Regions from separate parts of the Homo sapiens genome. Here region 2 is linked to region 1. The links are contacts of gene promoters, found by promoter capture Hi-C in blood cells and fetal thymus (Javierre and others, 2016). All regions are on one chromosome and are shown on one strand. Each heading gives the region's core, a stretch centred on a gene start or on the middle of the fragment in contact. The rest is flanking DNA. Distances are from core to core; before and after follow the strand shown.

Region 1 (6,066 bases), core at 1,978-4,477:
AGGCATGTGCCACCACGCCCGGATAATTTTGTATTTTTAGTAGAGACAGGGTTTCTCCATGTTGGTCAGGCTGGTCTCAAACTGACCTCAGGTGATCCGCCCACCTCGGCCTCCCAAAGTGCTGGGATTACAGGCATGAGCCACCGCGCCTGGCCGGACAATAATGTTTTGAGCTGTTGCTGAGTCTGGCTTTTGTGACGGGAACTTTTAGCACTCAAGGAGTGGCCTTGTCTCTGGCCTGTCCCCGAGTGCTCATGGGCAGCCAAGGCCTGGGGACTGCTCAGGCAGGGTAGATGTATTTGCCAGGCCAGCTCCCGTCCCTGGGACCTCAGGGAGTAGCTTCATCCCTGAAGGCTGAGTGTCTTCTGCCTCATGTGGGTGGCCCCTCTGCAGGGTTCTCAGGCATCCAGGGAAGTGGGTGCCACAGCGTTGCCTCCAGCCTCACTGGGGCTGGCTGGACTTTGCTCTGACAACACAGCAGTGGCTGGGCCCCTGCAACTCTCCAGGGCTCAGTTTCCCTGTTGGCCGCACTATGGCATAGGCCCCTGTGTGGACACCGATGAGCTGACCCCACAAATGCCACCCGGCCGCTCCCCCAGGCTTCAGTGGCCTAACAGCTGTTGTGTCAGGAACCAGCTTAAAGAATCTTTCTTGCTTTCTCAAACTCTCCAGGAATTCCTGGTGACTGGAAGGGGGAGTGACTCAGGCCCTCAACCTCTAGCAGGTAAGGGAGCTACCTCCTGGGTGGGCATGCCCAGTTCCTCAGTGGGCCCAGCGCGGCCCAGCCTCCGAGGAAGCTCTGAGCAGCTGGCTTGGCTCCGAGGTATTTTTAGCTACAGATCCAGCCCCCCTCCATCACCACAACAGTCGAGTCCAAATCAAACGCGCTCCAGGCAGGTGGGGCTGGGGTTCTGCCAGCCTCCTGGCCAGCAGGGGTGGGTGGGCAGACTGGGGCCAGTATCAGCTGTTCTGCCTGGACCCAGGCCGGGCTGGGAAGGCACACTTGTGCTTATTTCCCGCCTCCACTTCTGTGCAAGCTTGTGCTGTCATAAGCAGAGATCACAGCCCCATTTCTTGGATGGAGAAAGTGGACACTGAGGTCTGAGGCTTTTGAGGACAGTCAGGAGCCCTCCTATGGGCTCCAGTGATGCACTCACCAGCTTCTGGTCCTCTTCTTCCACCTCTTAGAGTGCCTTGGCTCCCTCCTGTCGTCCTGGGGAACCTCGGCCCCAGCCCTGCCTCCCCAGCCAGTCACAGCTCCTCCCTGGTCACCCTGAGGGAGCTCAGGGCCCGGCTGGTAGCTGGGTTGCTCTGCTTCTGTCCCCCACTCCTGTGGAGCCTGGCAGGCAACTCCATGATCTGACCCCGGTTACCTTGACAGCCCTGCCTGGCCTCCCCTCTCATGGCCCAGCCACCCCAGAACCTGAAGAGGTTTTCTAGCTGCCGTGCATTTGCCAGGCTGGGTTACCCACCCTACTTTCCCTGCCTGCCCTCCAGTGCTGCCAGGCCTAGTGTGCCAGCCAGCGCTCAGCCTTCAGTAAAGGGTTCCCCTGCTTCCAACCTCCATTGCACTGCTTCCCCTAAGACTGTGACCTCCTGGAAGGCTGGAGCACAACTGCCTCTCAATAAACGTGTTGCAAAAAAGGAATGGATGAGTTGCTGTGCATTTGTCTAGGGGGTGCTTGACCCAGGAGATTACCCTTTGCCCAGTGCCTGAAGAGGGCGTCCACTGAGAACCTGGGGTGCCTCCCCGGCCTCCCCTTCCCAGCTCTGCTGTGGTCTTGGGATTCTGTGGGCGGTCGCTGCTGCCCTCTGGTGGTCAGACCGTGCCTTGCTTGCACTGTGAGAACCTTGACCATGGAACTGCCAGGTTGGCGGTTTTCCTCCACGAAGTGAGGTTTACATGACCCTTGCCGAGACCTTGAAAACTGGGAGTCTTCGGGGTGGGGTCGCCAGCAAAAAGATCCTGAGTCCTGCCAGCCCCTATCTGAGGAAACTACGAAGGCCACTTGCCCCCAACCATGCTGCTGTTGGGGGTTTTGTTAGAAATGGGCTCTTCCTACCCCAGCTGGTAGGATCCCACTCTCGGCCATGCTCTCGTGCCTGTCTGCCGTGGACCGGCTCCAGGGGGGGGTCCCTCTGCCACCCTGTCGACTCATCTGGGTGGTGCAGAGGGCAGTCAGCCCGCCCAGGGTGAGGAGTAAGAGGAGGGGTGGGGGTTACGGGTAATTCAGCCAGCAGCCCTGATAGCACTGCCTACAGTAAGTGCTCAACAAATAAGCTGTTTTGATCAGGGGATGGGAGAGTTGGGGGGATTCCTGGGATGAAGGACATGTGGCTGCTGGCAAGGAAACGCATTTTCTTACATTTCTTGGTGGGTGTGGGGTTATCAGTCTCCAAAGCTCCAGGAGAGGGACCAAGTTGACTTCAACTAGAGCTACTCCAACCTGCCCCTCCCTGACGACGTCTTGCGTGGTTCACGCCTCTGGCTCCTGCCGGAAGGAGGCGGCCGCCCCTAGTGGTTTCGGGCCAACCTGCGCCCGGAGCGGCCGGCGCCGAGGCGATTGCCCGGCAGAGGGCGTCAGACGTCCACCCTGCAGCCCAGGGTCGGGGTGCGGGTAAGCGGAGCCCAGTCCCTCACCCCGAACCCGCGTGCACGCTGGCGTCCCTGGCCCAGGCGAGGTGGGCAGACATGACTCTCGCGTCAGCATCTTCCCTGGTGCCACCGCCGCTACCTCCTGTGGGGAAGCTGAGGCCAGAGGCGGACATGTGCCAAGCCACACCGCTGGGGCAGTGCAAAGTTGAGGGGCTCTTCCCGGAGCTGGAGGCCGGGGGCTTCTCGAACCCGGTGCGGAGGCACAGCCAGCCAATCCGGGAGACCCTGTCTGGCCGCGCCAGCCAATCAGAGGGTCCCTGCCGAAGGCGGAGCCTGCTAATCAGGGGCACCTGGAGTCGCTGGGCAGCCACGATCGGGTCTCGCCGGCGAGGGGCGCGACGTGACGCGCGGAGGGTGGCGGTGGGTTGGGGGTGGGAGCTTTGCTCGCAGCTGAGCCCCGTTTTTCCGGTGCTGCAGTATCCCTGGGACTGAGAGCTGAATACCCACACCCAGGGCTGAGACCTTAGCAGAAAGGAAACTGAGGCTGGGAGGTCGGCCGGGAGGCTGCCTGGCGGAGGCGGCGCTGCTCCGAGTGGGCGGGGCTGGTTCCGGCCCCGCCCCGCCCCCGACCTCTTGGCTCCGCTAGTGCCCGGCGCGCCGCCGCCAGTGCTGCGGGCTCCGGGCAATGGATGCCCCCGGGGCCCTGGCCCAGACCGCCGCCCCCGGTCCGGGCAGGAAGGAGCTGAAGATCGTGATCGTGGGCGACGGCGGCTGCGGCAAGACCTCGCTGCTCATGGTGTACAGCCAGGGCTCCTTCCCCGAGGTGAGGCCCGCAGCGGGGCTGGGGTGGGGGCGAGGGACGCCCCTTACCCTGAGCCCAGAGCCCCGACCCTCAGTCCCCAGCGTCCCGAGCACGGACAGGCGGCCGCCACCCCGGGGCGCCCCCTCGGGAATTCCAGAGCCCAGCGGGGTGAGGGGGGGCTGATCCGGGACGAGTGAGGGGGGTGGACAGTGGATTCAGCTGGAACTTTGGCCCCCGCCGGCCCCACTAAGGACCAACCCGACCCCCTCTCCCGCAGCACTACGCCCCATCGGTGTTCGAGAAGTACACGGCCAGCGTGACCGTTGGCAGCAAGGAGGTGACCCTGAACCTCTACGACACGGCCGGTGAGTGCGCCTGCGCGCCGGGGGGCCCGAGGGTCCGCCCGCCCGAAGGGTTTCCCCTCCCGGGCGTCCCCCACTGGGTGTCCCCGCCCTGCAGCCTTGGCAGGGCCTTGGCCGGCTCTTCACTCCTGGAGGCCGCTCAGGGGCGCTGGCTGCGGGGCCCTAGAGGCCAAGCCCTATACGTAAGTGGAAGGTGTTTGGAGGAGGAGGTGAACTCTGGGGCCACCCTCCCAGCTCTGTGCTGAGAGCCCACAGCTCGTTCCTCTCCTGTGGTTCTAGAAAGCAGTGGGCTGCTCTTGGGCCTCCCATGGTTCCAGGATTGCTGCGCTACCTGCTGTGGTCTCTGCAGACTCTGTGAGCTGCAGATTTGAGTCCCTTGGTGCTCGGATTGCCTGGGCTGTGTGTCTGGGTCCTGTGGTTCTGGGATGCTCCCGGCTGCAGATCAGCCTGTGGCTCCAGGGCTCTGTGGCCTGCGCTCTGCAGCCTGAGGCTCTGGGGTCCTGTGGATGCGAGTTCTGTGTCTGCAGCTCCCAGGATTCCACGGCTTGCAGTTGGTGGTTCTGGAATTGCGTGGCTACAATTACTTCTGTGCTTTCCTAGTTCCCTGGGACAAAACCAGACAGTGTAGAAAATGAACTGAGGAAGGAACAGAGCACTGGGGGCAGGGGCCCCACACCAGGCTCTGCCTGCCACCTGCAGGCCCCCACGGGTGGTTTACGGATTTATGTGCAATTGCTTGGGAGTCGGTGTTGTGAGGGGTGGGGACAGGAGAAACAGTCAGTGGGAGGACCCTGACTCCCATCTGGGCTTCATCAACATTGGGGACCAAAGGTTGAGATCCCCAGGTGGGGCCTCACCCCACCTCTGTGACTCAGTGTTTAGTGACCTGCAGGGAACCACGTCATCCGGTGGCCCTCTCCGGCCAGCCAAGCCTTGTGTGTGTGAGGTGAGGTCAGACACTGACCTAGGATGGAGCCAAAATCCAGACACCTCCACCCCCACCTAGACCTTGGAGAGGACCCGAAAAGGGGCTGTCCTAGCTCAGAGCCCCCCTCCATTCCGACTTCAGCAGGTCCTATCGTGGCCTCTGAGGAACCTGTCTTTGTGGGATGTGGGCCCTGTAGGGCCAACCCCAAAACAGCGCCTGTCTCTAGCCCCTGGTGAGCTGGGAGAGCTGAGGCATCAGAGGAATTCCCGGGGCGTGGCCCGGGGGTAGTAAAAGTCATGGTCTGGGACACCTTTACTCTCATGTTTCCTGTGCAGTAGCCAGGGAGGGGCAAGGTCATTGACCCACTTTTTGAGTCAAGTGCTGCTGGGTGGAGACATTCACAGCAACCCACTGCCCTGCAAGAGGTCAGGAGGTTTTTTCTTTCCTCCTCCTCTGCCATCAGGGCCTCCCCTATCAGGTCCCGGGGTTCACTGTTCAGGGCAGCCTCCACATCATAAGAACAGGGATGGCCTTTCTGGCCTTGCCCAGAGAGAGATGCTCAAGGAACATGTCAGAGTAGATTGAGTTGTGGAGATTCTGGAAAGCTGCAAGTTGCTGTAGGAAGAATTTGTGCTAAGAGCTGCTACCAGAGGGATGGAGGAGCATCCCCTGCTACAGTCACCAGAAGCAGGCGACCACTGGCACCATGGGGATCCCATCCATGGTCCCATCCTGTTCCTGCCATCCTCTTTGGAGTCAGATCTGGGCTTTGACCCCAGCTCTATTGGCTACGTATCATTGGGGATGTCTGGGCCTCAGTTTCCTGATCTGTCATGAGCACTAAGAGGGTCATGAGGATTAAATCAGATTAATATATGATGTCCACCAGCCTGCCCAACATGGTGAAACCCCATCTCTACTAAAAATCCAAAAATTAGCTGGGTGTGGTGGTGGGCACCTGTAATCCCAGCTACTCGGGAGGCTGAGGCAGGAGAATCGTTTGAACCCGGGAGGCAGAGGTTGCAGTGAGCCGAGATTGTGCCATTGCAGTCCAGCCTGGGTGACAGGGCGAGACTACATCTCCCAGCACTTTGGGAGGCTGAGGCAGGAGGATTGCTTGAAGCCAGGAGTTCAAGACCAGCCTGGGCAACATGATGAAACCCCGTCTCTACTAAAAGTATAAAAATTAGCCAGGCGTGTTGGCACATACCTATAGTCCCAGCTACTCGGAAGGCTGAGGCAGGAGAATTGCTTGAACCCAGGAGGCGGAAATTGCAGTGAGTCAAGATCACGCTACTGCACTCCAGCCTGGGCAACAGAGCGAGACCCTGTTTCAAAAAATAAAAATTAAAAAAAATTAAAAAGATCCTCCTACCAT
Region 2 (6,101 bases), core at 271-2,770, 240 kb after region 1:
ATAAAATAGGATTGCTATCTACTGTTTTTTAAAATTTTTTATTTTTTAAGATAGAGTCTCACTCTGTCACCTAGGCTGGAGTGCAGTGGCACAGCCATTGCTCACTGTAGCCTCTGCCTTCCAGGCTCAAGTGATCCTCCCAAGTAGCTGGGAATACTGGTGTCTGCCAACATGCACAGATAATTTTTAAATTTTTTGTAGAGATGGGGTCTTGACATGTTATCCAGGCTGGTCTTGAACTCCTGGGCTTAAGTGATCCTCCTGCTTCAGCTTCCCAAAGTGTTGGGGTTACAGGTGTGAGTCACCACACTCAGCCTACTCTTGCATTCATCAAATATTTGAGTGCTGCATGAATCCCAGATGCAGATGTTCTTTTGTTTTTTCTGGTCCACATTTGGACTAAGACTGAAAATCATAACTTGTGGATTAATACCTGTGTGCATGTGAGAGAGGTATATATACCTGGGATTAAATGAGAGTATAAAAGTGTTAATTTAAAGTATGTTACAGGCCGGGTGCGGTGGCTCACGCCTGTAATCCCAGCACTTTGGGAGGCTGAGGCAGGTGGATCACCTGAGGTCAGGAGTTCTAGACCAGCCTGGACAACATGGTAAAACCCCGTCTCTACTGAAAATACAAAAATTAGCTGGGCGTGGTGGCAGGCGCCTGTAATCCCAGCTACTCGGGGGGCTGAGGCAGGAGAATCGCTTGAACCTGGGAGGCAGAGGTTGCAGTGAGCCGAGATCGCGCCATCGCCATCGCACTCCAGCCTGGGGGACAAAAGAGAGACTTTGTCTCAAAAAAAAAAAAAAGTATGTTACAAAGGGCAAGTATCATGATATATACAAGGTATACATTTATTTGGAAACACTCCCAGATTACTTGCCATCTCTGAGACTCTCCATTTTAAAAAAGTAAAAAGTTTCATTGAAATATAAGTCACAGACCATACAATTCATTTCACCCCACTTTTTTTTTTTTTGAGACAGGATCTGGCTCTGTTGCCCAAGCTGGAGTGCAGTGGCACGATCATGGCTCACTGGAGCCTCAACCTCCTGACGCTCAAGCAGTCCTCCCACTTCAGCCTTCAGAGTAGCTGGGACCACCGGTGTGGGTCACCATGCTTGGCCAATTTGTGTGTGTGTGTGTGTGTGTGTGTGTGTGTGTGTGTGTGTGTGTGTGTGTGGAGCTGGGGTGTCACTATATTACCCAGGCTGATCTCAAACTTCTAGGGCCCAGCGCTCCTTCCAGCTCTGTCTCCCAAACTGTTGGGATTACAGGTGTGAGCCACCAGCCACCAAGGCCGGCCACAATTCACTTGTTTTCAGTATATTCACAGAGCTGTGCAACCATTATGAAAGTCCATTTTAGAACTTTTTCATCATTCCCCAGAAGAACCCCACACCCATTTGCATCTTGAATATGTTGTAGGGTCCTAAGCAGTCTGTTCACTGGGACTGGCCAGCAACGATTTAACTGGCTGTGATGCTGGGCAAGTCCCTAAACTTCCCAGCTCCTCACCTTCTCCACCTCTAGTTACAGATGAAACTGACCGACTCGGTAACGCTACCTACCTGTAGGTGCTCCAAGTGAGTGTGAAGTGCATGAACTCAGTTATGTCTCAGGACAGCTCCTGGGCTGGCTATTTGTTCCCCATGTTATAGATGAAGAAGAAACTGATTCCCAGAGAAGCCAAGAGCCCGAGGCACAGGCTGGAGGCTCCGCTGGGAACCGAACCCTCTAAATTTTAACAGTGTGTGGGTAGGGGTAGCTGAGCTTGGCCTTCAGTGCTGACTTGCAGGACTCTGGGTTCGTGATTTTAGTGCTCTTTATCCTATTTGCTACCTGCCCAGCAGACTCCTTTGCACAGGGAGCTTTGCAGACATGACCTTGAGCAAGATTAGGGAGGAGAAGTGGGTGGAGGTGGGAGGCTGGCCAGAGAGCGAGAGTGGGGAGGGTACCGGGGTTCTTTCTTTCTTTTTTTTTTTTGAGACAGAGTCTTGCTCTGTCGCCCAGGCTGTAGTGCAGTGGCGCGATCTCGGCTCGCTGCAACCCCGCCTCCCGGGTTCACGCCATTCTCCTGACTCAGCCTCCCAAGTAGCTGGGACTACAGGCGCCCGCCACCACACCCGGCGGATTTTTTGTATTTTTAGTATTCTCGGGGTTTCACCGTGTTAGCCAAGATGGTCTCAATCTCCTGACCTCATGATCTGCCCGCCTCAGCCTCCCAAAGTGCTGGGATTACAGGCGTGAGCCACCGTGCCCGGCTGGTACTGGGGTTCTGACAGCAGGGTTTCTGCCAGGTGGGCCTCCTGGAAAATCTGAGTGGCGCCCACGTATTCCAGGCACCTGGGTAAGGAAGGAGCTAGCCTTGCCAAGATCAAGGCCAGAATATCCAGCGAAGAACGGGGATGCCCCCTGGTGGATCTGCACTCCAGACGCCAAAACAAAAGCTGCTTTCCCCTGGATCCACTGCTTCCTAGGGTCCATGGGGAGGGACCTGGCCACTGCTGTGGTCTGGAATCTTTTTTTTTTTTTTTTTTAATTAAGACAGAGTCTCACCATGTCACCCAGGCTAGAGTGCAATGGCACGACCTCAGCTCACTGCAACCTCCACCTCCTGGGTTCAAGCAATTCTCCTACCTCAGCCTCCCAAGTAGCTGGGATTACAGACGTGTGCCACCATACTTGGCTAATTTTTGTATTTTTAGTAGAGATAGGGTTTTGCCATGTTGGCCAGGCTGGTCTTGAACTCCTGACCTCAGGTGATCCACCCATCTCGGCCTCCAAAAGTGCTGGGATTACAGGCATGAGCCACTGCACTTGGCCAGGTCTGGGGTCATGTTTCAACCTTAGCATACGATCAAGATTCAGTATTCGGGGGATGGGAGAGGAACCTGGGCTTAGGCATTAGAATGAATTGGATTCAAATACCACTCTGCCACTCACGAATTGGGCATTCCTGGGCGAGTTAGTTGTCCAAGTCTCAGCTTCTCCTCCATTAAATGGGTGTAATTGAAGTTCTGCTTCACAGAGCTGTGACCACGATGAACCTAACACAAGATAATATATGTAGAGAACCCGCCTGTGCTGACACACATAGTAAATGGTAATGGTTGTAATTGGTAGTAAGAGTCTACTCTGGGGAGCTTGAGCCAGTTGCTGTGTCTCTGGGCCTTGGTCTCCCCATTTGTAAAACAGACTGTCTCACCTTGCTTTTCCAGGTTGCTGTGAAATTTAGATCTTGAACCCAAAAGATAGAAATACCCAAGTTCTCTTACATACTTAAGGTGTTACTTTCTTTTTTTGTTTCCTTTTTGTGGAGAATGTGGTCTCCCAGCCTGGGCAACTTAATGAAACCCTGTCATGCTGGGCGCGGTGGCTCACACCTGTAATCCCAGCACTTTGGGAGGCTGAGGCGGGCGGATCACTTGAGGTCAGGAGTTCAAGACCAGCCTGGCCAATATGGCGAAACTCCATCTCTACTAAAAATACGAAAAAGAGCCGGGTGCGGTGGTGCACGCCCTTAATTCCAGCTGCTCGGGAGGCTGAGGCAGGAGAATCACTTGAACCCCGCAGGTGGAGGTTGCAGTAAGCTGAGATTGTGCCACTATACTCCAACCTGGGCGACAGAGCGAGACTTTGTCTCAAAAACCAACCAACCAAACAAAGAAAACCAAAACCCTGTCTCTACAAAAAATAAAAACCTGGTTGGATGTGGTGGTGCCGCCCTGTAGTCCCAGCTATTCAGGAGGCTGAGGCTGGAGGATCCCTCGAGCCAGGGAGGTTGAGGCTGCAGTGAGCCACGATCGTGCCATTGCTCTCCAGCCTGGGTGACAGAGCGAGACCCTGTCTCAAAAAAAAAAAAAAAAAAAGAATGGAATCTTGCTGTGTTCCCCAGGCTGGTCTCAAACTCCCAGGCTCAAGCACCATCCTCCCACCTCTGCTTTTCTAAGTGCTGGGATTACACAGAGTTACTTTTATTTTTCAGTTCCGACCACATGAAAGGCTATGTTTATTTATTCAACAAATATTGACCACGGGCCTGTTAGAGGGCAGGTTCAGTGAACGGGATGAGACTATTACCCATATCAACATCTAAGTTCCATGAGAGTTCTGTCTAGTTCAAGGGCCAGCAAACTTTCTCTGTTAAGTGCCAGAGAGTAAATACTTACGGGTTTTCAGGCCATTTGGTCTGTTGCAACTACTTAGCTCTGCCATTGTCGCACGGAGCCAGCCCTATACAATATGTGAACCGATGACCGTGGCTGTGCCCCAGGAAAGCTTTGTAAATGGACCTGAGAATTTGGGTTTCATATAGTTTTCATATCACAAAATAGTATTCTTCTTTTGATTTTTCCCCCTCCGTTAACAAAAATGGAAAACCCCTCAAAACGTATGGCTATTGTAGGGAAAAAAAAATCTAGGCCAGTTGCGGTGGCTCATGCCTGTAATCCCAGTACTTTGGGAGGCTGAGGTGGGTGGATCCCTTGAGGTCAGGAGTTCAAGACCAGCCTGACCAACATGGCGAAACCCCATCTCTACTAAAAATATAAAACTTAGCAAGGTGTGGTAGCACATGCCTGTAATCCCAGCTATTCAGGAGGCTGAGGCATGAGAATTGCTTGAACCCAGGAAGTGGAGGTTGCAGTGAGCCGAGATTGTGCCACTGCATGATCTCAGTCTGGGCAACAGAGTAAAAAGGAAAGTTAAAAAATTCTTAACTTCTGGGTCACACAATGATAGGCCGTAGGCTGGATTTGGCCCTTGGGCTGTCATCATATGGTGGCCTTTGGCTGGTTTAACCTGTAACCTGTTGAGGTGGCTGTGAAGAAAGGTGGTCACTGGCTTCTTGGGATTTTCTTGTTTATATGTTTATTTCCTTTTCTTTCTTTCTTTTTTTTTTTTTTGAGACAAAGTCTTGCTCTGTTGCCCAGGCTGGAGTGAGGTGGCGCCATCTCAGCTCACTGCAACCTCTGCCTTCCGGGTTCAAGCTATCCTCTTGCCTCAGTTTCCTGAGTAGCTGGCACTATAGGCGTGAGCCACCACGCCCGGCTATTTTTTGTATTTTTAGTAGAAACGGGGTTTCACTATGTTGGCCAGGCTGGTCTCGAACTCCTGACCTCAGGTAATCCGCCCTCCTCGGCCTCCCAAAGTGCTGGGATTACAGGCATGAGCCATCATGCCTGGCCATCTTTGTATTTTTAGTAGATACAGGGTTTCACCATGTTGGCCAGGCTGGTCTCAAACTCCTGACCTCAGGTGATCCCTCCACCTCGGCCTCCCAAAGTGCTGGGATTACAGCCTTAAGCCACCATGCCCAGCTGCTTGGGCCCCTTTAGGTAGCTTTTGAGGTCATCGCAGACTGGCGTGGAGGCCATGGTGGTGCAGGGAAGCAAGGTGGGTGGGAGACAGATCCCAGAAGGAAAGCCGATGGGGTGAGGTAATTGAACAGATGAGGAAGAGGGGTGAGGACTGTGGGGAAACGTGGAGGAGCAGCTTTTGTTTAGTGAGGGGCTCCCATGTAGGATCTGGAGCCTTAAGCCGGCAGGAACAACCAGTGTGTGGCTTCTGCCTCCAGGGAGCCGGCGGCTTGTGGACGTGATGGATGTGAACACCCAGAAGGGCACGGAGATGAGCATGTCCCAGTTTGTGCGTTACTACGAGACGCCCGAGGCCCAGCGGGACAAGCTGTACAACGTCATCAGCCTAGAGTTCAGCCACACCAAGCTGGAGCACTTGGTCAAGCGTCCGACTGTGGTAGGTCCGGGGCCCAGGTACCCTCCCCAGATACCTTCCACCTCATCTCCTTCCCTGTCCCCCTGCCACCTGGGTTGTGCCTTGCAAAAAGGCTCATGTGGGTGTGGCTGGCTGGGCTTGGCAGGCATAGGGGTGACTAAGGTTGGTAACGTGGTTTGTAGAGACAGGGATCTTGCTATGTTGCCCAGGCTGGCCTTGAACTCCTGGGTTCAAGTGACCCTCTCACCTTAGCCTCCCAAAGCACTTAGATTAGAGGTATAAGCTACCGTGCCCGACCCCCAGCGACTGTTTCATCTCCTTCCCTTCTACAAAGTGTGGGTCCTGTCATCCCTGCCCTTCCT

Evidence for each region. The method cuts DNA at HindIII sites, captures the fragments that hold promoters and counts their contacts. A CHiCAGO score of 5 or more calls a contact.
Region 2: a fragment that was not itself captured here is called in contact with the fragment with the promoter of RHOF in region 1 in 2 of 17 cell types (naive CD8 T cells and activated CD4 T cells); the score reaches 5.7 in naive CD8 T cells.

Annotation. Positions count from the first base shown.
Region 1 is chr12:121,790,849-121,796,914 of GRCh38, reverse strand. It overlaps RHOF (ras homolog family member F, filopodia associated), which reads left to right and starts at 3,227. Exons shown (of 5, transcript NM_019034.3): 1 at 3,227-3,419; 2 at 3,676-3,763. The coding sequence starts at 3,282. It overlaps LINC01089 (long intergenic non-protein coding RNA 1089), which reads left to right. Exons shown (of 4, transcript NR_152740.1): 4 at 673-1,648. It also overlaps a transcript of SETD1B not described here. RefSeq lists enhancers at 1,233-1,402, 1,698-2,238, 2,783-2,832, 2,779-3,319, 3,325-4,156 and a silencer at 3,313-3,852. The HindIII fragment of the contact is 6,952 bases long and covers 1,040-6,066 here.
Region 2 is chr12:121,549,119-121,555,219 of GRCh38, reverse strand. KDM2B (lysine demethylase 2B) reads left to right here. Exons shown (of 23, transcript NM_032590.5): 5 at 5,582-5,760. Among named protein-coding and RNA genes, the nearest start is that of KDM2B-DT, 28 kb to the left of the region's middle. RefSeq lists an enhancer at 5,611-6,101. The HindIII fragment of the contact is 5,533 bases long and covers 1-4,286 here.